Linked DNA regions of Homo sapiens: all the other regions are linked to region 6. The links are contacts of gene promoters, found by promoter capture Hi-C in blood cells and fetal thymus (Javierre and others, 2016). All regions are on one chromosome and are shown on one strand. Each heading gives the region's core, a stretch centred on a gene start or on the middle of the fragment in contact. The rest is flanking DNA. Distances are from core to core; before and after follow the strand shown.

Evidence for each region. The method cuts DNA at HindIII sites, captures the fragments that hold promoters and counts their contacts. A CHiCAGO score of 5 or more calls a contact.
Region 1: a contact is called between a fragment that was not itself captured here and the fragment with the promoter of LPIN2 in region 6, in 1 of 17 cell types (activated CD4 T cells). The highest score is 6.6, in activated CD4 T cells.
Region 2: a fragment that was not itself captured here is called in contact with the fragment with the promoter of LPIN2 in region 6 in 7 of 17 cell types (activated CD4 T cells, naive CD8 T cells, total CD4 T cells and 4 more); the score reaches 10.1 in activated CD4 T cells.
Region 3: a contact is called between the fragment with the promoter of MYL12A here and the fragment with the promoter of LPIN2 in region 6, in 14 of 17 cell types (monocytes, naive B cells, total CD8 T cells and 11 more). The highest score is 9.4, in monocytes.
Region 4: a contact is called between a fragment that was not itself captured here and the fragment with the promoter of LPIN2 in region 6, in 1 of 17 cell types (activated CD4 T cells). The highest score is 6.2, in activated CD4 T cells.
Region 5: a fragment that was not itself captured here is called in contact with the fragment with the promoter of LPIN2 in region 6 in 10 of 17 cell types (naive CD8 T cells, activated CD4 T cells, total CD4 T cells and 7 more); the score reaches 11.6 in naive CD8 T cells.
Region 7: a fragment that was not itself captured here is called in contact with the fragment with the promoter of LPIN2 in region 6 in 6 of 17 cell types (naive CD8 T cells, activated CD4 T cells, neutrophils and 3 more); the score reaches 8.4 in naive CD8 T cells.

Annotation. Positions count from the first base shown.
Region 1 is chr18:2,867,925-2,871,349 of GRCh38, forward strand. All of the region lies in intron 2 of EMILIN2 (elastin microfibril interfacer 2), which reads left to right. Among named protein-coding and RNA genes, the nearest start is that of EMILIN2, 23 kb to the left of the region's middle. The HindIII fragment of the contact is 1,388 bases long and covers 1,368-2,755 here.
Region 2 is chr18:3,226,136-3,229,236 of GRCh38, forward strand. It overlaps a transcript of MYOM1 not described here. Among named protein-coding and RNA genes, the nearest start is that of MYOM1, 7.7 kb to the left of the region's middle. The HindIII fragment of the contact is 8,579 bases long and covers 1-3,101 here.
Region 3 is chr18:3,246,551-3,249,565 of GRCh38, forward strand. MYL12A (myosin light chain 12A) reads left to right here and starts at 1,251. Exons shown (of 4, transcript NM_006471.4): 1 at 1,251-1,359. It also overlaps a transcript of MYOM1 not described here. RefSeq lists enhancers at 958-1,187, 2,320-2,389 and a silencer at 1,478-1,557. The HindIII fragment of the contact is 13,247 bases long and covers 1-3,015 here.
Region 4 is chr18:2,825,696-2,828,784 of GRCh38, forward strand. No RefSeq gene overlaps it. Among named protein-coding and RNA genes, the nearest start is that of EMILIN2, 20 kb to the right of the region's middle. The HindIII fragment of the contact is 312 bases long and covers 1,302-1,613 here.
Region 5 is chr18:3,204,803-3,208,032 of GRCh38, forward strand. The region is part of intron 2 of MYOM1 (myomesin 1); the gene reads right to left. Among named protein-coding and RNA genes, the nearest start is that of MYOM1, 14 kb to the right of the region's middle. The HindIII fragment of the contact is 7,009 bases long and covers 1-3,230 here.
Region 6 is chr18:3,011,590-3,014,883 of GRCh38, forward strand. LPIN2 (lipin 2) reads right to left here and starts at 1,555. Exons shown (of 20, transcript NM_001375808.2): 1 at 1,498-1,555. RefSeq lists a silencer at 996-1,945. The HindIII fragment of the contact is 8,581 bases long and covers 1-3,294 here.
Region 7 is chr18:2,800,588-2,803,674 of GRCh38, forward strand. SMCHD1 (structural maintenance of chromosomes flexible hinge domain containing 1) reads left to right here. Exons shown (of 48, transcript NM_015295.3): 48 at 1,941-3,087. The coding sequence ends at 1,965. Among named protein-coding and RNA genes, the nearest start is that of EMILIN2, 45 kb to the right of the region's middle. The HindIII fragment of the contact is 3,341 bases long and covers 1-3,057 here.

The DNA of each region.
Region 1 (3,425 bases), core at 812-3,311, 140 kb before region 6:
GGCCGGGCAGAGGCGCCCCTCACCTCCCGGACGGGGCGGCTGGCCGGGCAGGGGGCTGACCCCCCCACCTCCCTCCCGGACGGGGTGGCTGCCGGGCGGAGATGCTCCTCACTTCCCAGACGGGGTGGCTGCTGGACGGGGCTCCTCACTTCTCAGATGGAGCGGCTGCCGGGTGGAGGGACTCCTGACTTCTCAGATGGGGCGGTTGCCAGGCAGAGGGTCTCCTCACTTCTCAGACGGGGTGGCTGGGCAGAGACGCTCCTCACATCCCAGATGGGGCGGCGGGGCAGAGGCGCTCCCCACATCTCAGACGATGGGCGGCCAGGCAGAGACGCTCCTCACTTCCTAGATGGGATGGCGGCGGGGAAGAGGCGCTCCTCACTTTCCAGACTGGGCAGCCAGGCAGAGGGGCTCCTCACATCCCAGACGATGGGCGGCCACGCAGAGACACTCCTCACTTCCCCGACAGGGTGGCGGCTGGGCAGAGACTGCAATCTCGGCTCTTTGGGAGGCCAAGGCAGGCGGCTGGGAGGTGGTTGCAGCCAGCCAAGATCACACCACTGCACTCCAGCCTGGGCACCATTGAGCACTGAGTGAACGAGGCTCCCTCTGCAATCCCGGCACCTCGGGAGGCCGAGGCTGGCGGATCACTCGCGGTTAGGAGCTGGAGACCAGCCCGGCCAACACAGCGAAACCCCGTCTCCACCAAAAAAATACGAAAACCAGTCAGGCGTGGGGGCGCGCGCCTGCAATCGCAGGCACTCGGCAGGCTGAGGCAGGAGAATCAGGCAGGGAGGCTGCAGTGAGCCGAGATGGCAGCAGCACAGTCCAGCTTCGGCTCGGCATCAGACGGAGACCGTGGAAAGAGGAGAGGGAGAGGGAGAGGGAGACCAATTCTTCTTTAAATGTCTGTTAGGATTTAGCTGTGAATCCATCTGGTCCTGGACATTTTTCTTGTTGTATTTTCAAAATGCTAACATACATCTGTGATGTTTTGTGTTATTTTACACAATATGTCAGTTTGAAGGGAGTTTTTTTTTTTTTTAATCCTGTTTGGCTTTCTTCCTTAATCATTGATCCAATACCTTTAAAAGAACAAAAGTAAATATTAGACCTGAGTTCTCTATAGGCAGAAACAATTGGTTATGTGTCTGAAGAGTAATCTGATACATTTTTAAAAAACCAACTCTAGTTAAACCTACATTCTGAAACTTTGACAAAGACTTAATGATGCTGATTTTAGTTTCTATGTAATTGAAATATGTTATTGCATAGTCAAGAAAAGACTTCTCTGGTACTTCCCTTTCACAGATTTGAAGAGATTTAAAAATACCTTAATGCAGAAATTACATAGTTAAAAAAAAAAAAGCTTAATTGAAGTATAATTTACATGAGTAAGCCACATATTTGAAGTTGTACAGTTTAATATTTTGACATATATACCCGTGAAACCAACATCACAATCAACATATCCCTTGCTAATCTCTCCCTCCAGTTTCTCTCCACGTACCCCCTCCCTGGGAACTGCTGATCCACTTTCCCTCACTAGGGATAAGTTTGCATATTTTAAAGTTTTATGTAAATAGAGTCATACAGGTTGTACTCTCTTTTGACTGGCTTCTTTCATTGAACAGAAAGATTTTGAGATTCATTCATGTTGTAGTATGTATCAGTAGCTGATTTTTTTTTTTGAGATGGGATCTCACTATATTGCCCAGACTGGTTTTTGAACTCCTGGGCTTAAGTGATCCTCCCACCTCAGCCTCCTGAGTGGCTAGGACTCCAGGTGTGTGCCACTGCACCTGGCTGTAGTTGATTACTTTTTGTTGTTGGATAGATTCCTCTGTGTGTGTGTGTGTGTTTGTGTGTGTGTGTGTGTGTGTGTGTGTACCATCATTTGTATAGTTGCTGAAGACGTGGTGAAATACAGAGTGGGCAAAATAACTTTTACTGATAGTAAGGATACTTCTCGGAGTTTCTGAAGAACAACTGATATGGGAAATACATTACAGATATAGAACACTAGATAATAATGGACTAGGCATGGTGGCTCACACCTGTAACACGACACTTTGGGAGGCTGAGGCAGGTGGATCACTTGGGCTCAGGTGTTAGAGACCAGCCTGGGCAACATGGCAAAACCCAGTCTCTACCAAAAATACAAAAATTAGCTGGGCGTGGTGGTGCACGCCTGTGGTCCCAGCTACTCAGGAGGCTGAGGTGGGAGGATCGCTTGGGCTGGGGAGGTTGAGGCTACAGTGAACTATGATTGTGCCACTGCACTCCAGCCTACGTGACAGACCCTGTCTCAAAAGAAATAAGTAAATAAAAATAAAAACATAATGAAGTAAAAAACATTTCACATTTATAGCCCTGGAAAATGTTGGATTAAGGATTCATAATTAGCATAAGCCATTTTGAATTGTCAGAAAGCTCAACAGGCTTGAAAGAAGACTTATTATTTGAAGACTATTTGTTTCATTAAACAAATATTTTTGTTCAAAGCCTACATGTGGCCCAGAACTAGTTTCTACAGTGATACAGTAAGGATCTTTCTGTTGGCTTCTGGAAGTGCACATCTAGCAAGTGAATTGAAAGATAAACATAAATAATTACGACATAAAAGGTGGGAATGAGAATTGTAGTAAGAGAAACACAACGTGCTGGGGTGTTCAGAGGTAGAAGAAAGTTATTTCCAGCCAGGAGGAATCCGAGAACTTGTTTGCAAGTGGTGACGTCTTATGGCTTTGAAGGAAGCTTCTAGTTGAATATATGCAGATGTGAGAGAAGGCCAAGGTCAGCGTAAGCCAAGACACACGAGCAGGGACCTGGAGGTGGGTGTCCACAGGGGGTCGTAGATCAAGACATCAGCAGGGTTGGTTCTCCTGAGGGCTTCGAGGGAAGGATCTGTTCCAGGCCTCTCTCCATGGCTTGTAGATGTCCGTCTTCTCCCTGTGTCTCTTCACATAATCTTCCCTTCTGTGTGTGTCTGTCTCTGTCTCCAAATTCCCCCACCACCCTTTTTTTCTTTAGCTACCTGTTAACTAAATTTTCCCTGGTTTCTAAGGACACTAGACCTATTGGATCAGTACCCACTCTAATGACTTTGTTTTAACTTGTTTTAACTTGATCACCTCTGTAAAGACCCTATCTCCAAATAAAGTCACATTTTCCGGTACTGGGGGTTGGGACTCCAAAATATCTTTCTGGGGGGCACACAATTCAGTCCAGAACACTGTGGTTGGGAGTGTGGGCTTTCTTATCCATGCAGAGGAGGGTCATGAATGCTTTCATTGGGGACATCATCAAATTTGGGCTTTTCCCCCCTTTTTGTGGAGGATGGGGTCTTGCTATGTTGCCCAGCCTGGCCTCGAACTCCTGGGCTCAAGTGATCCTCCTGCCTCTGCCTCCCTAAGTATTGTGAT
Region 2 (3,101 bases), core at 281-2,780, 210 kb after region 6:
ACATTATGTGGCATTTGCTGAAGACCTAAGGAACATTGTGTTCCATTCATTCGTCAGCATGAGTGGTGCACGGGTTGGAGAGTAGAAGTGCTGCAGTAAGCCAGGCACTGGGATTGAGGACAGAATGTGAGCTGACGCTATGACAAAGGGAGAATGCATTCAGACAGAGCTCACTATGTCCTCTTCTGCTTCAAACCTTCCAATGGCTCCTCACTGCCTATTCTTCCCCAGGTGGCCTCCTCAGCATGGCACGAGGGCATCTTCACCCTATGAGCCTCCATAATTCTCCAGCTCCGCCCCTCTCCATTCCCCTGCCTGCCTCCTGAGTTTCAACCACGGGTAATTCCTTGCAAGCCCTCAAACTCCAGGACTCCAGCACCCCGGTTCCCTCACACCTGGTGCTCCTCTCAGCCCTGCCAACACGCGCACACTTCCTCACTTCCTTCACCCCGCTCCTTCAACACCCCGTGCCATCTCCTTCCGGGAGACTTCCCTACTTCCACTAGGATGGGAAGTTTTTCGTGTGGTATTTACGTGTTTACTTTTCTGTCTCTGCACAATGAGTACTCACTGGTAGGAGCGGGATCTCTATGGCTAGGTGCTCCCAGTACCCAGCAAAGCTCCTGACCCACAACAGGCATTTAATAAAGAATTACTGAATGAGGAAAACTGGGAAATGTGGCAAAGGACAACTCCTCAGGACATAGGGACTCCTTAGAGATGGGAAAAAACAAGGGCTAGGAGTCAGTGTGGCCAGGGATCAGCTGTTCAGCTGCGGGGAGGACAACTGCTGTGAGCCCCTCTTAACCTGCGTGTGAGGCTCAGGAGCTGGTGGGTAGATTCTGGGAGAGGGACAAGCCCCTAAGCCAGAAAGCTGCCTGCACGCATAGTCCAGGCCAGGGAACTGGAGGTGAGTATTAGAAAGCAAGACCCCAAAGCCCATTTTCTAACATTTTTTGTCTCTACCTGTTTTTCTGTCTATTCATAAATAGATATCTGGTATGATAATGACTTCCAAATGATGAGATGCTTTCTCTTTCTTTTGTTTTTTTTTAACTTTCTTGTTTGTATTTTTTTTACTTGATTTTAAGATATAATTAGCATCAAGAACTGTGAAGGTATATACATACAATGGAATATTATTCAGCCTTAAAAAGGAGTGAAATCCTGACACACACTACAACATGGATGAACCCTGAAGACATTATGCAAAGTGAAATAAGCCAGTCACACAAGGACAAATAGTGTATGATTCCACTTATATGAGGTACCTAGAGTAGTCGAGTTTATAGAGAAAGCAGAACAGTGGTTGCCAGGGGCTGGGGAAAGGGGGTAATGAGGAGTATAGCTTAATGGGTAGAGTTTCAACATGGGATGATTAAAAAGCTCTAGAGCAATGTGAGCCGGGCGCGGTGGCTCACACCTGTAATCCCAACACTTTGGGAGACCGAGGTGGGCGAGTCACAAGGTCAGGAGTTTGAGACCAGCCTGGCCAACATGGTGAAACCCTGCTTTTACTAAAAATACAAAAAAATTAGCTGGGTATGGTGGCAGGCACCTGTAATCCCAGCTACTTGGGAGGCTGAGGCAGGAGAATCGCTTGAACCCAGCAGGCGGAGGTTGCAGTGAGCCATCGAGCCACTGCACTCTAGGCCAGGGGGCCGTACGAGACTCCATCTCAAAAAAAAATTAATTAATTTTTAAAAAGCTGTAGAGATGTGTAATGGCGATAGTTATACAACAGTGTAAATGTACTTACTGCCACTGAACTGTATCCCTAAAATGGCTAAAATGGTAAATTTAATGTTGTGTATATTTTACCACAATTTTTTAAAAAAAGGAACGCAGGAGTCAGAGATTTTACCCTACTTGCAAACTAAAAAGTGATCCTGCTACAGTTTCATGAGTGTTGACAGAAGACACAAGAAGACAAAGAGCTTTACTCCTGACAGCAAGAGCAGTGGCCAAGTGTCAGCATATTCTTCACTGGTTTGCCAGCCCCCAATCCCCATGTTCCCAAAGGACAACGTGATGAAGACCAGGTGACACCTGCAGTCACAGTGGGCTGCATTACAGAAGAAGAATCTTGACTTTAGAGCACCTGAATATTTCATCATGAGCATTCAGCATACCTGCCCTTTGCTTCAGAGGGAGATATTCTTGTTACACTGGATAGTAAGCGTGTCTGCCTTTTGCTGTGGCTGGAGACACTTACTCTGTCTTCAAAGGCTGTTCACTATATGAACAGTCCTGCAGAAACAGGCTGGAACAACGGAGAGCCAGATCTTCGCTTGCAACATGTGCCGAAACACAAGAAGCCCGCGGAGAACTGTCTCCCGACAATGACTGTGTGTTACTTTTACAAAAATCATATGGTTTTTTTTTTCCTTTAAAAGTAAGAACCAGAATAAAGATCAGCAGATCTGAGTTTTCAGTTTCAATTCATTTCGAATTTCCTTTTAACAGTTTATAGCAATAAAATTGACACACCATAAATTAATCCATTTTAAGAGTAAAGTTCAGGGAGTTTTAGTCAATTTTTACATTGTGCAACCATCACCAAAATCCAGTTTTAAAACACTTCCATCACCCAGAAAAGTTTCCTCAGGCTTGTCTGCAGTTAATCCTGGGTCCCGCGCGTGACCGAGGCCACCACTGACCTCTGTCTCTACAGTTCAGCTTTTTCTAGAAATTTCACACAAATGGAATCCTACCATATGTAGTCATTTGTGTCTGGTTTCTTTCACTTGGCAAGATGTTTTTGAGTTTCATCTGGATACTGGATGCACCAGTATTGCACTTGGTTCTCACCAATGTCCTACCCTGTCCGCAGTTGTCCTTTCAATAACAATGAATGAATGTGTTGTATTGCTCTGCTATAATTTGTTACCTGGTCTCTAAGTGTTGAGCACCTGGAAATTTCCAGTCATTCACCAGGACTAGAAGCTGGAAGCAGGCATTTGGAGCATCTTTAGTTTCAACCCAGCTCTTTTATCACCTCTCTGTGACTTCTTTTGAGAGGCCTTTTTTAGCCTCTCGGGCTCTTGTTTATTCATAGTTCCCCCAATAGAGTGGGATTGGAAGAGTGGTTCTCCTTCCTG
Region 3 (3,015 bases), core at 1-2,500, 230 kb after region 6:
GTTAACTTTGGAATACGTTAGTGGTTAATACACGGAACGTTCCCGAGATCCCTCAAGAAAGAAGCTACGAATACTTAGAAGATACTATTCCGCGGCGTTTACAGCAACACTGTCCGTTCCAGAAGGATTCAAGTGGCGGCCTGCTTTGAAGGCGAAGACCACAGGGCAACCCAAACTTCAGAAGGGTTCTGGCCACGGGAGCCACACTGGTCACTGTCCCCTAGTGCTGGGATGACGGCTCGAGTGTTAGAGGATCCCACTCTCTCCTCTGGTAGGTGAGGTCAGAGAGCTGAGGGGGCCAGAACAAGTCTTCCTTATCGGATTCTGGGCGGAAAAAGATAAAGTCGGGGAGGACTTTCTCTTTTTAATAAGATTCATCGTTACGAATTGTTCTAGGCAAGCAGACCTCAGGAGAAATAGGCCCAAGTTTTGATTCCTGTTTTCACCAAGTCGCAAGTCCTAATCGTAGCAAGAGGTGCGGGGAAGAGTCGCCTTCCTTCCTGCATAGTGGGATCCAAGTCAGGCTGTCCTTGTTAGCCAGGGTCAAAGGGGCTCTGCCAGGGAAAAACGACGGCAAATGTTTTTCAAGAGGAAGTCTCCAGCCACTTGTGACCTGGGAAATCCGTCTGGGCCAAAAAGATAGTGGAGGCTTGGCTGAGGGCCCCAGGGACACACGTTTCCTCCCGTATGGAGGGGGCGGGACTCTTAATAAAATTACACTGCACACAGAGCTAGCATCAAGATCCGCTCCCGGGATACGCGCACTGCTCCGGGGCCCTCAGGCGGAGACCCAGACCCCGCGCGGGGCGTCAAGCGCAGGCGCACTACCGCCCACAAGCTGGAGCCCGGCTTCGGGGCGGGGCGAGGGTCAGTCACGTGGGCCCGCAGCCCTCTCCTCGATTTCCCTACAAGGACTTGGGCCGACGGGCCCCGCCCTTCGCCGTGCCCTGGAATGTGCGGCCAGGCAAAGCCACAGGACGGACGCAACCATCTGCGGAAAGGATAGGGGGGAGGAAGACTTAACACTGCAACAACAGGTACAAAAAAGAAGGAAACTCAGTAACAGGACCCAGAGGACCATTATATATTGCTCTATATTCTAGGTCGCCCACTTTACACTTCCTTCTCATGCACTTGGTCAATACCACGCCCGCTGACCACACTGGCGACTTCCCTCTCTGTCGCCCCTCCGTGAAGTCAGACCCACTCTGCGGGCCAAGAAAGGTGACCGGGCTTCCTTCCGGCTTGCTAAGCAGAGGCCGGAAGCGGTGGTTTTTAGCGGCTCTCTGGGTAGCAGGGTGGTGTGATAGCGGCAGCGAGGGGCTCGGAGAGGTGCTCGGATTCTCGTAGCTGTGCCGGGTGAGTGGCGCTCGCGTTCGGGCGCGTGAGACCCATCCCGGGGACCCGTCTCCGCGGGGGCAGCTGGAGGGCGGCGGGGCTCCTGGCGCCGGTAGCGCACCTGGGCAGGTGTGCCAGCCAGGTCCCCGGTTCTGGGATCCGAGGCCATGGCTTGGAGTGGCCCAGACCCGAACTTCGCTCCTGTGCCCAAACTTGGAACTCTGGAAATGTGGCTTCGCTCACTGGCGCCTTGAGCTTGGGCGACTGCCGGGCCCGCGAAACCCGACCCCTGCAGAGCTGACTCCGGGACTATTTTAGTTTCTAACGTCAACTTGCCCGATTCAAGAGGGTTTGCGCAAAAACGTAGCCCGTTGTCCCCCTGCTGCAGCTGTTGTTGCAGCTGTGTGGCTGCGTTTAGTAGGAATAACCAACTCAAATTGGGAAGTTCTTCAGCTCAGTATCCGCTCCTGTAATTAGAACTTTTTTTCTTTAAGCGATGAAATTTTGGACAGAGAGATCTGGAGTTTAGTTTGTGACTCGAAGAAAAACTCCAAAATGTAATACCTTGTCCCATTTGGGGGGAAAGTTTGGGCTAATTCAATTCGCCATGGAAGTGTCTTCTTTTTAAAGTAGTTTAGTAGGTATATGAATGTATCTGTCAGTTCTTGAGAGACCTATGGATTTAGCAGAGATTTTAACTTAAGTGCAAAAAGTTTCATATTTAAAGGCGAATAAAGCGAATATTTCTTAAAATTATTGGTATTTGTTTCATGTTCTGGAAGGGCTCTAATAAACGGTAATCAGAAAAGCACTCTATTTTCAAAAGCGAGGCTTTACTGGCAAGTCAGCCCTCACAGCTAATTGTCTTTGTCCAGTGGTGAGAACTTTTGGGTGTGGCAGTCCAAGAGAACGAATCCTACCTTCAACCGGAAGTTTGCATAAGAAATGAAACTTGGTTTACTTGGAACGGAAGCACCAACTTGAAATACACTTTTTAAAAATTGTGGTTAGCACCAGAAAATAAGTTATACTTAGGCTTTTTTTTTTTAAGTGCATTGATTAAATGAGGCGGTATATTTGGTCAGGGTTTAGAAAGCCCACCAAATACTAGGTGCTATCACAGTACGCAGTGTTTTGTAAGATGGTGGTTTTTTCTTGCAGAATGTGTGATATTTCTCAGAATATTATCAATTTGAGTGTTCGTTTTGTAGAAGAAGTTTCTAGGTTATTTTACATTTATTGCCACTTTGTAAATAAATGCTGGACTCTAGGATTCTAACCACAGAACTCTAATGTATATATTGGTATGGATTAATCCCATTTTATAAATGAACATAGTTTCTAGAGATTCTGAAAACTTCTTGTGTCCTTTGGTGTGTGGGGAAAGCCACTTTGAGAATCTCTTCTATTTCTCCCACCTATTAATCTAGTCTAACATTTTCCTTAATCATGTTGTGTATCTCTCGTTACAGCCCACAATGATTCTGAGCTAAAACACAAAATAAAAACCAGATTCATTGCCACCAGCGCTCACCTCGCCTGACTTAAAAAAAAGGTTATGCTCCTTTAGATCTGTAAACTCAGTCTCCTAACTGCCCTTCATCCACTTTCTCATGCATCTGAAATCCTCATATTTTGTAGAAGCCTGTTCTGTAAGTCTCTCTACTTTCCAGTTTC
Region 4 (3,089 bases), core at 208-2,707, 190 kb before region 6:
TCTTTCTCAGTTATTTGTTGTAACATCTGAGAGGGCCTGGAGGCACCGGAGAAGCTTCAAAGAAGGGCTGAGGACAGAGGTCTTGTAGGTGGAGCTGAAGTTCTCCAGGCAGCGAGGTTAGCCCTGCCATCCCACACAGAGGAGCAGCTTGGGCAAAGATTACACTGGCTGAAGGGCCTCCAATCACACGTAACTGGAAAGAGGTAGAAAGGAGAAAGAATTGCTTTCTCCACTCAGCTTTCTCAGGCAAATTCAATGTGTTTCTGGCTTGAACATTCCTGTTTTTGAAGACTGCTTACAATGTGGATAAAATGGATTTGTGTATCTCCAGTTGGGGCTTTAGCTCTGCCTGGAGTCTTTGAAGGCTTATCTCTGAGAAATTACCACAGATCTTTGGGGAGGAGAGTGGGGCAGATTGGAGGACAGCATCCTCTAAATGAAGTCATTTTCATGGTCAAGACTTGCTCCCTTTACCTTTTTTTTTTTTTTTGAGACAGAGTCTCGCTCTGTTGCCCAGGCTGGAGTGCAGTGGCATGATTTCAGCTCACTGCACCCTCAGCCTCTCGAGGTCAAGCGATTCTCTTGCCTCAGCCTCCTGAGAAGGTGCCTGCCACCATGCCCAGCTAATTTTTGTATTTTTAGTAGAGATGGGGTTTCACCATGTTGGCCAGGCTGGTCTCGAACTCCTGACCTCAAGTGATCTGCCTGCCTCAGCCTCCCAAAGTGCTCCTTTAAAATTCTGAAGTATCTTGAATAAGTATTTGGAACCCCAATCTAACAAGATCATTCATCATGAATCTGCCCTTCAAAAGATATAATTTATTTGTATTTCTCTGGGAATCATTTAGGAACAGCAGTTCAAAGCTTGAAATGGGTTTTCTTCTTTTGTTATCTCTCACAGTTGACAGATCTCTCTTGCTAAGCTGCGATTTGGCAGTGCTTGGCTCTTAATCCCAGCTATTTAAAAGTACAGTTAAGGAAAACTGTAATTCTGAGGCAATGCGTGTTTTGAAACCTTATTTGGCCTCTCATTATCTCATTCATTGGGGCGGGAAGCACTCAGGCTGGGGTCACATGCTTGGCCTAGGGAGAGGATGACTATTCTGTCCTCGGACTGACCGGGCCCTGGAGTCGGGCAGGGAAGGCTGAAAATAGTCATTTCTTGGCTGCATTGGTCAGGCAGGAGGGTCTCTGTAACACAGGGTCGCTGACAAGTGAGACGGAGACACAAGGTCCCCGGAGGTCGGCCTCAGCAGGGACAGTGCATGTGTTTGTAGGACAGTTGAGGAAGTCCTAAGCAAAGCTTTACAGAGCTTTAGATTGATTACAGTTGTTTACAATTGTTACAAGAGAAAACTAAAGTGTAGTCTTCTGTTCAAAGTTTGAATTTTCAACTCATTTCTGAGTTAGCATTCCTGGATCTTAGTTCTCATCGAAATCAAGCATCACTTTCCCCCTGTATATTATTATGTTAATTTGGTCAACTGTCTTGTAAAAGTCAGATGCCTGTCTGCTTGTTCTCACTCATTTGACCTATGTGATTAAACAAGTATTATGCACCAGGAACTGTGCCAGGCATAGGGATAAAATATGAATAAGACAAATAAGAAACAAGCTTTTCCTCTGATGAGTCTTTGTTCAAAGCTAATAGCTGGGGCTTGGTTCGGTGGCTCACTCCTGTAATGTCAGCACTTTGGGAGGCCAAGGCGGGCGGATCACATGAGGCCAGGAGTTCGAGACCAGCCTGGTCAACATGGTGAAAACCTGTCTCTACTAAAAATACAAAAATTAGCTGGGTGTGGTGGCACACACCTGTAGCCCCAGATACTCAGGAGACTGAGGCAGGAGAATCGTTTGAACCCAGGAGGCGGAGATTGCAGTGAACTGAGATTGCATCACTGCACTCCAGCCTAAATGAAAGAGCAAGATTCTGCTTAAAAAAAAAAAAAAAAAGTAACAGGAGGGCACAGCGATTCACACCTATCATCCCGGCCCTTTGGGAGGCTGAGGCAGGAGGATCACTCGAGGCCAGGAGTTGGAAGCCAGCCTGGGCACTATAGCAAGACACCATCTTTATTAAAAAAAAAAAAAAAAAAAGGAAAAACTGGTGTTGGGGGTCAGAACGGATGTGACTTTGGGGTACTGTTGATAACTGGAAGGAGCCACAAGGGGCTTTCCAGGGGTGGTCGTGTTTTGCTTCATGATCCTGATGCTGGTTCCATGGCTATGTTCACTTTGTGAAAATTCACTGGGCTGATTATCTATGATGTTGCCCAGGCTGGGTACCATTTTAATATAAGTCTCCTGGTGCACTTGTCCAAGATTTCCTTAAGGGTATATATATCTAGGGGTGCAATTGCTGGGTTTTAGAGTACACACCTGTTCAAATATAAATAGTAATGCAGACTGTTTTCCAAAGTAGTTGAACCAGTTCAGGCCCTATCTTAGTCTGTTTTGTGTTGCTTTAAAGGAATACCTGAGGCTGGGTAATTTGTAAAGAAAAGAGGTTTATTGGGCTCATGGTTCTACAGGCTGTACAAGAGGCAGCTGAGGTGAGAGGGTCACTTGAGCCAGGCATTCGAGGCTGCAATGAGCTGCGGTTGTGCCACTGCACTCCAGCCTGGGTGACAAAGCAAGACACAATCTCTTTTATTTTATTTTATTTTTTTTGAGGTGGAGTCTTGCTCTGTCACCCAGGCTGGAGTGCAGTGGCACGATCTCATCTGACTGCAAGCTCCGCCTCCCAGCTTCACACCATTCTCCTGCCCCAGCCTCCCAAGTAGCTGGGACTACAGGCGCCTGCCACCACGCCCGGCTAATTTTTTTGTATTTTTTTAGTAGAGATGGGGTTTCACCATGTTAGCCAGGATGGTCTCAATCTCCTGACCTTGTGATCTGCCTGCCTCGGCCTCCCAAAGTGCTGGGATTACAGGCGTGAGCCACCGCGCCTGGCCCAACACCATCTCTTAAAACGAAAAAAATCATCACATGATTTGAACTTGGAACTTTCTGACCTCAAAACTGTTTAAAAACCCTAAAAAAAATTCTCAAGCAGGGAAAATGAAAAAACTAAAACAACATAAACATGC
Region 5 (3,230 bases), core at 667-3,166, 190 kb after region 6:
TCACCAGTTTCAAACTTTTTATAAAGCAACAGTAGCACTATGGTACTGGTATAAGAACAAGCATATAGATTAAGGGAACAGAATTGATAGTCCAGAAATAAACCTCTACATTTATGGTCAAGTGATTTTTGATAAAGGTATCAAGAAATTTAATGGGGGAAGGGATAATCTTTATAACAAATGGTGCTGGGGCAATCAGTTGTACTGTAAACCCATATGTGAAAGGACGAATTTAGAGCTTTACTCAATATTATACACAAAAAGTTACTTCAAAATGCATCACAGTTCTAAATATAAGTGCTGAAATGGTAAAACTCTTAGAAGAAAAGATCAGAGAAACTCCCTAAGGTGTTGACTTAATCAAAGAGTTCTTAGATAAAATACCAAAAGCATGATTTGAAAGGAACAAAATTGTTGAACTGAACTTCATCAAAATTAAAAACTTCTGGTTTTGGAAAGACACTGCAGTAAAGAGAAGGAAAAGACAAGGCACAGAATATGAGAAAATATTTGCAAACATATCTAATAAAGGACTTGTATCCAAACCATTTAAATAACTATGACAACTCAATAAGAAAAAAATCCAATTAAAAAATGGGCAAAACATTTGAATAGGCATTTCACTAAAGAAGATACAGAAATGGCTACTAAATGCAAAAAAGATGGTTAACAAAATTGGTCATTAAGCAAATGCAAATCAAAACCACAACAAAACTCTATTACACACACATTATAATGGCTATAATAAATAAGACAGAAAACAATAAATGTTGACAAGGATGTGGATAAACTAGAATCCCCATACATTTTTGTGGGAAGGTAAAACAGTACAACCACTTTGGAAAACCACTGGGTAGTTTCTTATAGAGTTAAATGTAAACTTAGCATACAACCCAGCTGGTATTTCAGAAAGTGCACGAGAAAGTTTATTTCAAACATTATTGAACAATCTCCTTGTTCAATCGTTCACAATGTATATACATATAACACGTTATAATACCACTGAAATCCTCACGGGTTTATTTCTTAACATTCTGTAGCAATTTCATTTATTTGACAAAAAAAATTATTGAGTATCTACTGTGTGCAAAATACTGTGTTTGGCACTGGGGTAGGAGTAGGATACAAGGATAAATGTAAAACCCTTGTCTTCTGAGAGCTTTACGGTCTAGTAAGGGAGCAAATATATTATGTCAATCAAGGAAGAAAGGATGGAAGAACACAAAGAAGGAAGGCCAGTAACCACAAAGGCCAGTGCAAACAAAATGTGAATTCACACACTCGAGAGTGAGCTTCTGTCTGGGGTTATCAGGGAATCCTTCGTGGAAGAGCTGGACATTCAAAGATGGGTAGGACATCCCAGGATGAAAAGCTCTGTTTTTAATGCTGACTTATCTATGTGTTTTCATTAGGCTTTACTGAAAGGCCACAAAAGAGCTGAATTCATTTTTTCTATTCTAAAAATGTTCCTTTAAAAACTTCATCTTTACATATATTTACAGCTCCGTACTGTTCACATATATGCGAAATGCTCAGCCGTTTACTGGAAGAGAGAAAGAGGCCATGTTTTTAAACTGTGGGTCAGCTTTTTCTGGGCCTCTTCTGGGCTGTCTTTGCTCCAGTTAGCTGCTCCTCCGCAGGGCTTCAGCATCTGAATTACATCTCTCATCTTTAGGACCCTGTGCAGAGTCGCTGGGAATTTGCATTCTCTTTTCTACTCTCCAATTTTCTGTTCGCCACAATTTCCTCTTCGCAAAACCTGAAAAATGATACTTTTCTTTGGACTTTTGTGAAAACGTTGTTTTGGATCTACTTTTGATTGAGAACAGCTTGGTTTTGTGCTCCTCCTTTGATACAGGCAATCCCGGTGGCCTAACACCTACTGATTCTTGATTCTCCCATTTCCCAATCTTGACACACATGGAGGTTTCAGGAGAACATCAAAGTTCGCGGACAAGTAGAAAGCTGAAGAGTCCTCTTTTTGCTAATACACTTTTCAGAAAAAGTTTCTTATGGTACAAACATGAATTTAGTTAGATCGACATGATCCTTGAAATTTACTGACAGGTAGCGTCATAATAAATATTATGATGTCAAAATAAATAGCCTTCCCTTGGATTTTAATTTTTTTTGCATTATTTATCTTACACTAATCTCTTCTCTTCATTTTACTCTTAGCCATATCTCACTTTCAGTTTTTTTTAAAAAAAACTATTTAAATAGGAATATAACCGCAATTTTTTCATTTAATTTATTGCTTTATTTTTTCCATGATTTAAATTTCCATTGATATGTAACATTTTCCTTGCTTTTTCAGTAACTTTACACAGTTAGTGTATAGCCATGATATAAAAACAAATGCCCTAGGAATGTAGAATATTCATGTGTTCTAGAAAAGGTGGATGTGTAAAACTCTGAGAGAATTAAATCTCTTATGGTTCTTGTCTATATACATCCTTCAGTTGTTATTCACTTCTGACTATTCCATAAGTGAATTTAATCGGACTACATTATAGTTTTTAAGCAAGAGTAAAAGAGTTTAACCCCATATTTCCTAGACATTATAGTATAAAGACACTTGACAATAGTATCAGGAGATGCCTTACTAAGTCTAAGGTTGTTTCTTTGTGAACTGAGGTGTCCAGGGTTTGTCAAAGCAGGTCTTATTAACTTATTTATAAAGCAGCCCAGACACCAATATCCACTCTACTTTGGGATGGTCACTGGGATTGACTAGACATTGCACGAAAGTTACCTTACTCTTGCTTTCTTGTTTCATCTAAAAGATGGCTGTGGGAAACCTCAAGCCTGTTGCAAAGGCACCCTTGGGCTTCCAGAGTCCAGAGGTCTCTCTGTGGAAGCTCAGTTACACCCCACTACCTGGCCAGTGCCGACACTATGGAGGCCAAGGGCCTGCAGGGACAGAGCAAATGTTTCACCTCTGAGCCCAGGGAGGTAGCAGCTTTGCCCTTCCTCCGCCTCTGGCTGACTCATTCTACTCTGCTCTACTCTAGGAAAAGGACATGCCTTCTCACAGCATGATTCACCTGCCTAGGGAAGACTATGCCATTCTGGGTATATCTGGTGCCATCTCAACTTGATTTAGGCTGCATGAGAGCCTGGTAAAAGAGTCAAGCACAGCAGGCAAAGAAGGAACCACATCTTTCTGGGCCTCAGTCTACACATCTATGAAAGGAGGGGCTTAAATTATATGAACTTTTGGTCCTTTC
Region 6 (3,294 bases), core at 305-2,804:
GGCACAAGAATCGCTTTAACAGAGGAGGCAGAGATTGCAGTGATCGGAGATCGCGCAACTACACTCCAGCCTGGGCGACAGAGTGAGACTCTGTCTCGAAATAAAAGAGATACTTCAGTCTGACATACCACAATCAACTACAATGTAATTGGAGGGAAGAGCCGATGTTGGACGGCTATCACACGTGGCTTCACACTGTTCTTTTTCTTCTCTGGCTGGGTACGGCCTGAGGATGACTGCCCTCCAACAACTGAGGATGCTGCAGGAGGACCAGCCCAGCACCTGTCTCCATCCCCTGCACTGTGTGGCCGGCTCTGCCGCTTCTCCCCCGCTTCAGCATCACCTGCCACTTCTTCTCAATCTGAAGCCACTAAGAACGATCAACACCAGACCGTTAAAACATAAACCAGTATGGGCCACTAAATAATTCGTAAATATTTCAAAATGTATTTCAAAACCGACTTTGTATTGTCAAAACATTATAATCTAGCCAGGCCAAGTTTTAATAAACAGTAACACCCATCATCACTACTGGGTAAAGAACTTCATTCAACAGGACCTACCTTGACACCAAGTCTAGAGCCTCGTTTTCAATTAAAAAAAAAATGGGTAAGCCCCAAATGTGCATTAAAAATTAGTTTGGCCATTTACTAAGTAGTCCTTCAAAGCATTTCCAAGTATTCAGAGTTCCAGTACTTTTCGGAAAGGAAGGGTGATCTTTCTGGTACTGGTTTGCATAATTATGCCTAAAAAATGTCATCTTGAATTTTCAATGAAAAGAGTCTTAAAATGTTCAGGCGAGTGGAGAAAATGGTGATCCGCTGGCGTTAGAAGTGGACAGAGAGGCTCTCAGTACAAACTGTATCTGAACGTGTTCCTCACAAATTAAGATCTGCACCGGGGGCTGGGGGGCTTTGAGAAAACTAACCACATTTGAATCCGGTCCACACAGCTTGAAGGCGGAGGTACGGGGCAAAGCGCGGCGGGGAAGAAACACCAGCAACTCGGCGGCCCCCGCCTCGCCGCAGATCACGTGCCCGGCGCCCCCTCCCGCAGGGCCGGGGGCGGGATGGAGACGCGGCCTCCCGCGCGCCTTCCGCACTCCCCTCCGCGCCCCAAACCCAGGGGTAGGGGTGGTCTCGGGTAACCATCCCCAGGGCGGCGGCGAGGGAACTGCGCGGGTTCAGAGTCCTCAGCAGCCACCACTGACGCCCCGACGCCCCCGGCTCCCCGCGCACCCCGCCGGTCCGTCCTGCGGCGGCGGCGGTAGGGGCCGCGTCTACGTGGCGCGGTCGCGGCGAGGCGGGGACTGGGACGCGAGGACCGGGAAGCGGGGACCGCGGCGCGAGGAGGGGCGGCTCAACCCGCGCCGCCCCGGAGGGTCCCGGCCTCCGGCAGGACAGCCCCGGGCCCGCGCCAAGGGAAGCCCCCAGGCGCAGACACTCACCGCCAGCCCCGGAGGGACGCCTGCGAGGAGCCCGGCCCGCGCCCACTTACCCACAGGGGCTCCGCTCCCGGCCAGCGGGCGGCTGAGGGCAGGCGGCGGCTGGACTGCGACGGCTAGGACCCGCCGGGGAGGGAAGCCGAGGGGGCGGGGCCGGTCGGGGGCGCGCGCGGGGTCGGAGCGCCCGCAGCCGCCGCTGCCTTGGAAGCCGCCTGGGCCGCAGCTGAGTCGGGCGGCCCTCATGAATGGGACGCCGCGGCTGCGGCGGCCGAGCCGGCAGCTGGCGGGCGGGCAGCGCGCAGGCCCCGCCCCAGCCACGTGACGCGCGCTCCCGGCCGCGCGCCGCGCCCCCGCCGCCGAGCGCCAGGCGTGCGGCTTCTCACCGCTCCCAGTCCCTGGGCTGCGCGCCCGGGCCCCTGGCCAAGTGAGGGCGGGGCCTCGATTTTCTAGTGCCTCGGGCGACAGGAGCCTTACTTTGTTTTAAAAAAAAAAAGTTTCTTCCGGTCCCCATGGCAACCCTGCGGCAGGTCACGTGGGACTGAGAGCCCAATTGCCAAAAAGGAATGTTAAAGTGCAAAAAAAGTCTAGGGAATGAATGTTTTATAATCCCCTTTTGATCACTAGTAGCACATCTCCTTTGCTTACTTACATCTCCACCGAAAAAAAAAAAATCCTATTACACAACTCATTTTTAAAAATATGCCGGGGTTCTGTTGTTTTTTGTTTATTCTTTTTATCGCTCTGTTACCCCGGCTGGTCTCCAACTCCTGGGCTCAAGCATCCCCGCACCTCGGCCTCCCAAAGTACTGGAATTACAGGCATGAGCCACCGTCCCCAGCATTAAAATATACTTTTTAAGAAATGGGTGGCTCACGCCTGTAATCCTAGCACTTTGGAAGGCCGAGGCAGGCGGATCACTTGAGGTCAGGAGTTCAAGACCAGCCTGGCCAACATGGTGAAACCCCCGTCTCTACTAAAAATACAAAAAACCAGCCGGGCGTGGTGGCGCGTGCCTGTAATCCCAGCTTCTCAGGAGGCTGAGGCAGGAGAATCAGTTGAACCCGGGAGGCGGAGATTGCAGTGAGCCGAGATGGCGCTATTGCACTCCAGCCTGGCGACAGAGAGACTCCGTCTCAGAAAGAAAAGAAATGGGGCCCGGCGCGGTGGCTCACGCCGGTAATCCCAGCACTTTGGGAGGCCAAGGCGGGTCGATCGCCTGAGGTCAGGAGTTGGAGACTAGCCTGGCCAACGTGGCAAAACCCCGCCTCTACTAAAAATACAAAAATTAGCCGGGCATGTTGGCTGCAATCCCAGCTACTTAGGAGGCAGAGGCGGTAGAATCACTTGAACCCGGGGGGCGGAGGTTGCAGTGAGCAGAGATTGCGCCACTTCACTCCAGCCTGGGAGCGAAACTCTGTCTCAAAAAAAAAAAAAACAAAAAAAACTGGATTGCTGGTGCTATATACTATTGGTGCACACTGGTTTTTAATTTGCAGCCTATTCTATTACTATTCTATGATTGAAAGTAATGAACAGAAGCCTATGTTACTTCTATATAAATGGCAGTTAATTTATGAGGTGCATCTTGTGTGTGATCATTTATACAGTTCTAAGGGTACTGAAATAGGCATTTGCATACACAAAGCTGCTCCTTGAAGGATCCAGCTGCAGCCCAGTTTCTTCCCACCAGTGCCTGGTGTAGCTGGGCAGTGCTTGGATTCAGGGAGCAGGCGACCACTTCTTCACTGAAGTTCCTTCTGCTTTTCTGTGAAACTCGATCAAGTTTTGCCCCATCTGTAATCAAGGCCCTACAGAAACATAGGTAGTTTCACTGGCACAAGACCACTAGG
Region 7 (3,087 bases), core at 137-2,636, 210 kb before region 6:
GCGGCCTCCCAAAGTACTGAGATTACAGGCCTGAGTCACCATGCTCGGCCCAACATCCACATGTTTAAAGCAAAACCTGTGGACCCATGACGTTGATTTGCCCTATCCCAGTTATAGTTACCATCAAGTCCCACTCGGAGAAGAGACTTGTTGGTAAAACAGTTCTATTTTTATAATAGTAGAAGAAATTCCAGCTAGCAATGTAATCCTCTTTCTTAAATGTAATTGTACAACTAACAGTCATCACACATATGAGGGTAGCCAGCAACGTGAGAGACAAAATTCAAGATTAAGTTCCAAAATCAACATGGAGGACAATTTAGTAAAGAGACTAGACCTCTTTTATAAAATTATAATTACTATGTAGCAGAAAGGAGCCAGGACAAGAATGAATAAACAGATTACAAATATTGTTGCTGAAATAAAAATGTTCAATAGGAGGATTAAAGTCCAAAAAGAAAACTTCCCCAATACAAAAAGAGATAGAAGACATAGAGAACCAATTCAGACTATTAGGAATCTAGAAAGAAGAAAATGGAGAAGGAAATGCTATCATGTGGAAGAGGATTTCCTAGGGATGAATAAAATTCATTGAATGCCCAGCAACAGTGACTGACAAAATACTCACTAAGATACTTCATAGTAATACTGTATCATATCAAGGAGAGGGAGAAAGAGTGTCAGTGATTTTAGAGAAGCCAAAGAACCATATTTTCAGTGCAGCCTTTAGTACATGGGGAGACACACACACAAAGCTATCATTTGTTTAGCTTTGTGATGGCGGTATTAGAAGTTTAGGTGGAAAATTTGGTGTATTCTGGACTGCGACTTTCTCCTCTTTGCATCCTGATTATATTCATGAAATTTGTTAAAATCACTATGAGGGATTTTCTCATCCTCAGTCTTTTCCTATTCTCTATAAATCTTTAATAAATCTCACACTCTCAAGAGGTCAGAGCATTTGAAATAAAAATCTTAACAGTATTGAATATTGGTATATTTCATCCATACAATCAGGAACAAATTTAATAGTAGGAAAGGAAATAGGTACATTATATGTGTTTCTGTATATTTATGTTTATGTTTTTATTTACATATGTATACTGAATATATATTTGTTACTGCTTATAGATCACATACTATGTTTCATCAACTTTAAGATTTCATTAACTATAAAAATGTCATTTTATGAAACATTAAAGAAAAATATTGCAAATTAACTCATGACCTTATAAAGTACATCTGGATTTCAGAGATGTTAAGTGTGAAAAAATATCTTAGAATTCATTAGATATGCTTAGCAATATATGATACTATGCAGTAGATTCCATTGTTTTCTTGAATAGAGGCTTCAGTTTTCTAAATAATTTTCCACTTATAAAGATTAAAAATTAGTTCTGTTAAAAATATGTATCATCTTCTATTTGGAGATAGTTCAGGGAACTATTAGAAAATATTTACATATACCTGAATTTTTAAAATCTGTAGCTATATATGTCAAGGTGCTCACTGTGTTCATCTCTACATGAATGAGATTATGAATATTAAATGTTTTATTTTGCTTGTCTTTGTTACTTTTCTGTAATAAGCATTATAATTCCTGTTCTTAAAATAATAAGTTCATTTAAGGAAAAGGGGGTGAAAGGAAAAATCTGCAGAATTTAGGTCTGAGATAATACCATTTCAAAGCACTGTGATACAAATTACTTATATATGTTATATACTGTGTGTGTGTTAACTACTTTTATTTGGGGGCTTGTTTTGCATACATGTGAAGGAAATGATTATATATAAGGATTTAATTAAATCTGTTTATACCAAGAATTATATTTAAAAGAATATGGTTTCATTGGATATTTAAGCATTCAGGTGTGATGAGGGAATTCAGGGAAAGGAAACCTTTGGTACATAAAACTTTTTTTTCTTTCCCCTTTGACCAGGATTATAACCAAAACAGATGTATGAGAGGTGACAGAGAGAAGAGGCCATTGGTCTCAGTAAGAATGCCCTGCTTTCTGCATCTCTGTTTCAGAAGACCAAGAGGGTGACTTACCAGACTGAGTATTTCTGGGGACAATACAAGTACCTGGGCATGAATTTCCATTTCGATTCAGATGGGACTGGAAACAACCATTCAATTTTATGAATCTTACTGGACATTATGGATTTACTGGAATTATTCCAGACATTATGCCCTTTGGTTGTCACTACCTTGCAAATGTGTAAGAGGAAAATGTGCTAATGTGGCAGTGACTGTAAAACTGGCACATGGCATTTATTAATCCTGAAGAAAAGTACATGTACTATTTTTCAGTATAAATATAATGAACATGTCAGAACTATTTCTTGAAAACCTTTTTATTACTTTTGCGTGAATTTATTTAACAAAGATGTTTTGTCTTTTGTGTAAGGGAGGTTCTAGAGGCTAGATGTTTAATTGTAAATATGTGAGGAAACTCAATGCAGAATTCAGGATAAAAATTTTAAAAGCACAGGTATTTGGGAATTGAAATGTTAAGATACCCAGAACAACATTAAATCAATGAGTGAACTTGTGACAGTGGTAGCATTTCAAATTTCAAAAGACTTATCCTGTGTGTGTGTGTGTGTGTATATATATATATATATATAAATATATATATATAAAATATTCAGCAGCACCAAGTTTTATAACTATTGTTTGTTTGACTTTATTAATACTAGAATATGTAGTCTCAGCCTTAATTTTACATTTACATTATTTTGTAATTTTTTATTACTATTTTTAAGGGGTTAAAGAGAACATACATTCTCACATTAGTGTACTTTCTGGTAGAAAGTTGCTGCAAAAACATTTGAAATGTATATTAACCTAATGTATGTCATATATATGTCTTTGTGTAAGTTCAAGACTATTGATCTGTGAAGTTATTTTGTAAGGACATACATTTGGTAAGTAAGTTTGTGTCCCAGGAAATGTATGTGTTTTTAAACCCTTTCTAAATATGCAGGCCATTAATAAATAAGATTGTTTCTTCCCTACTGAATAGATAAGTGTTTTTCTTTTTTAAAATTGGAAGCTTCATAAAAGTTATCTTGTTAAAAAAC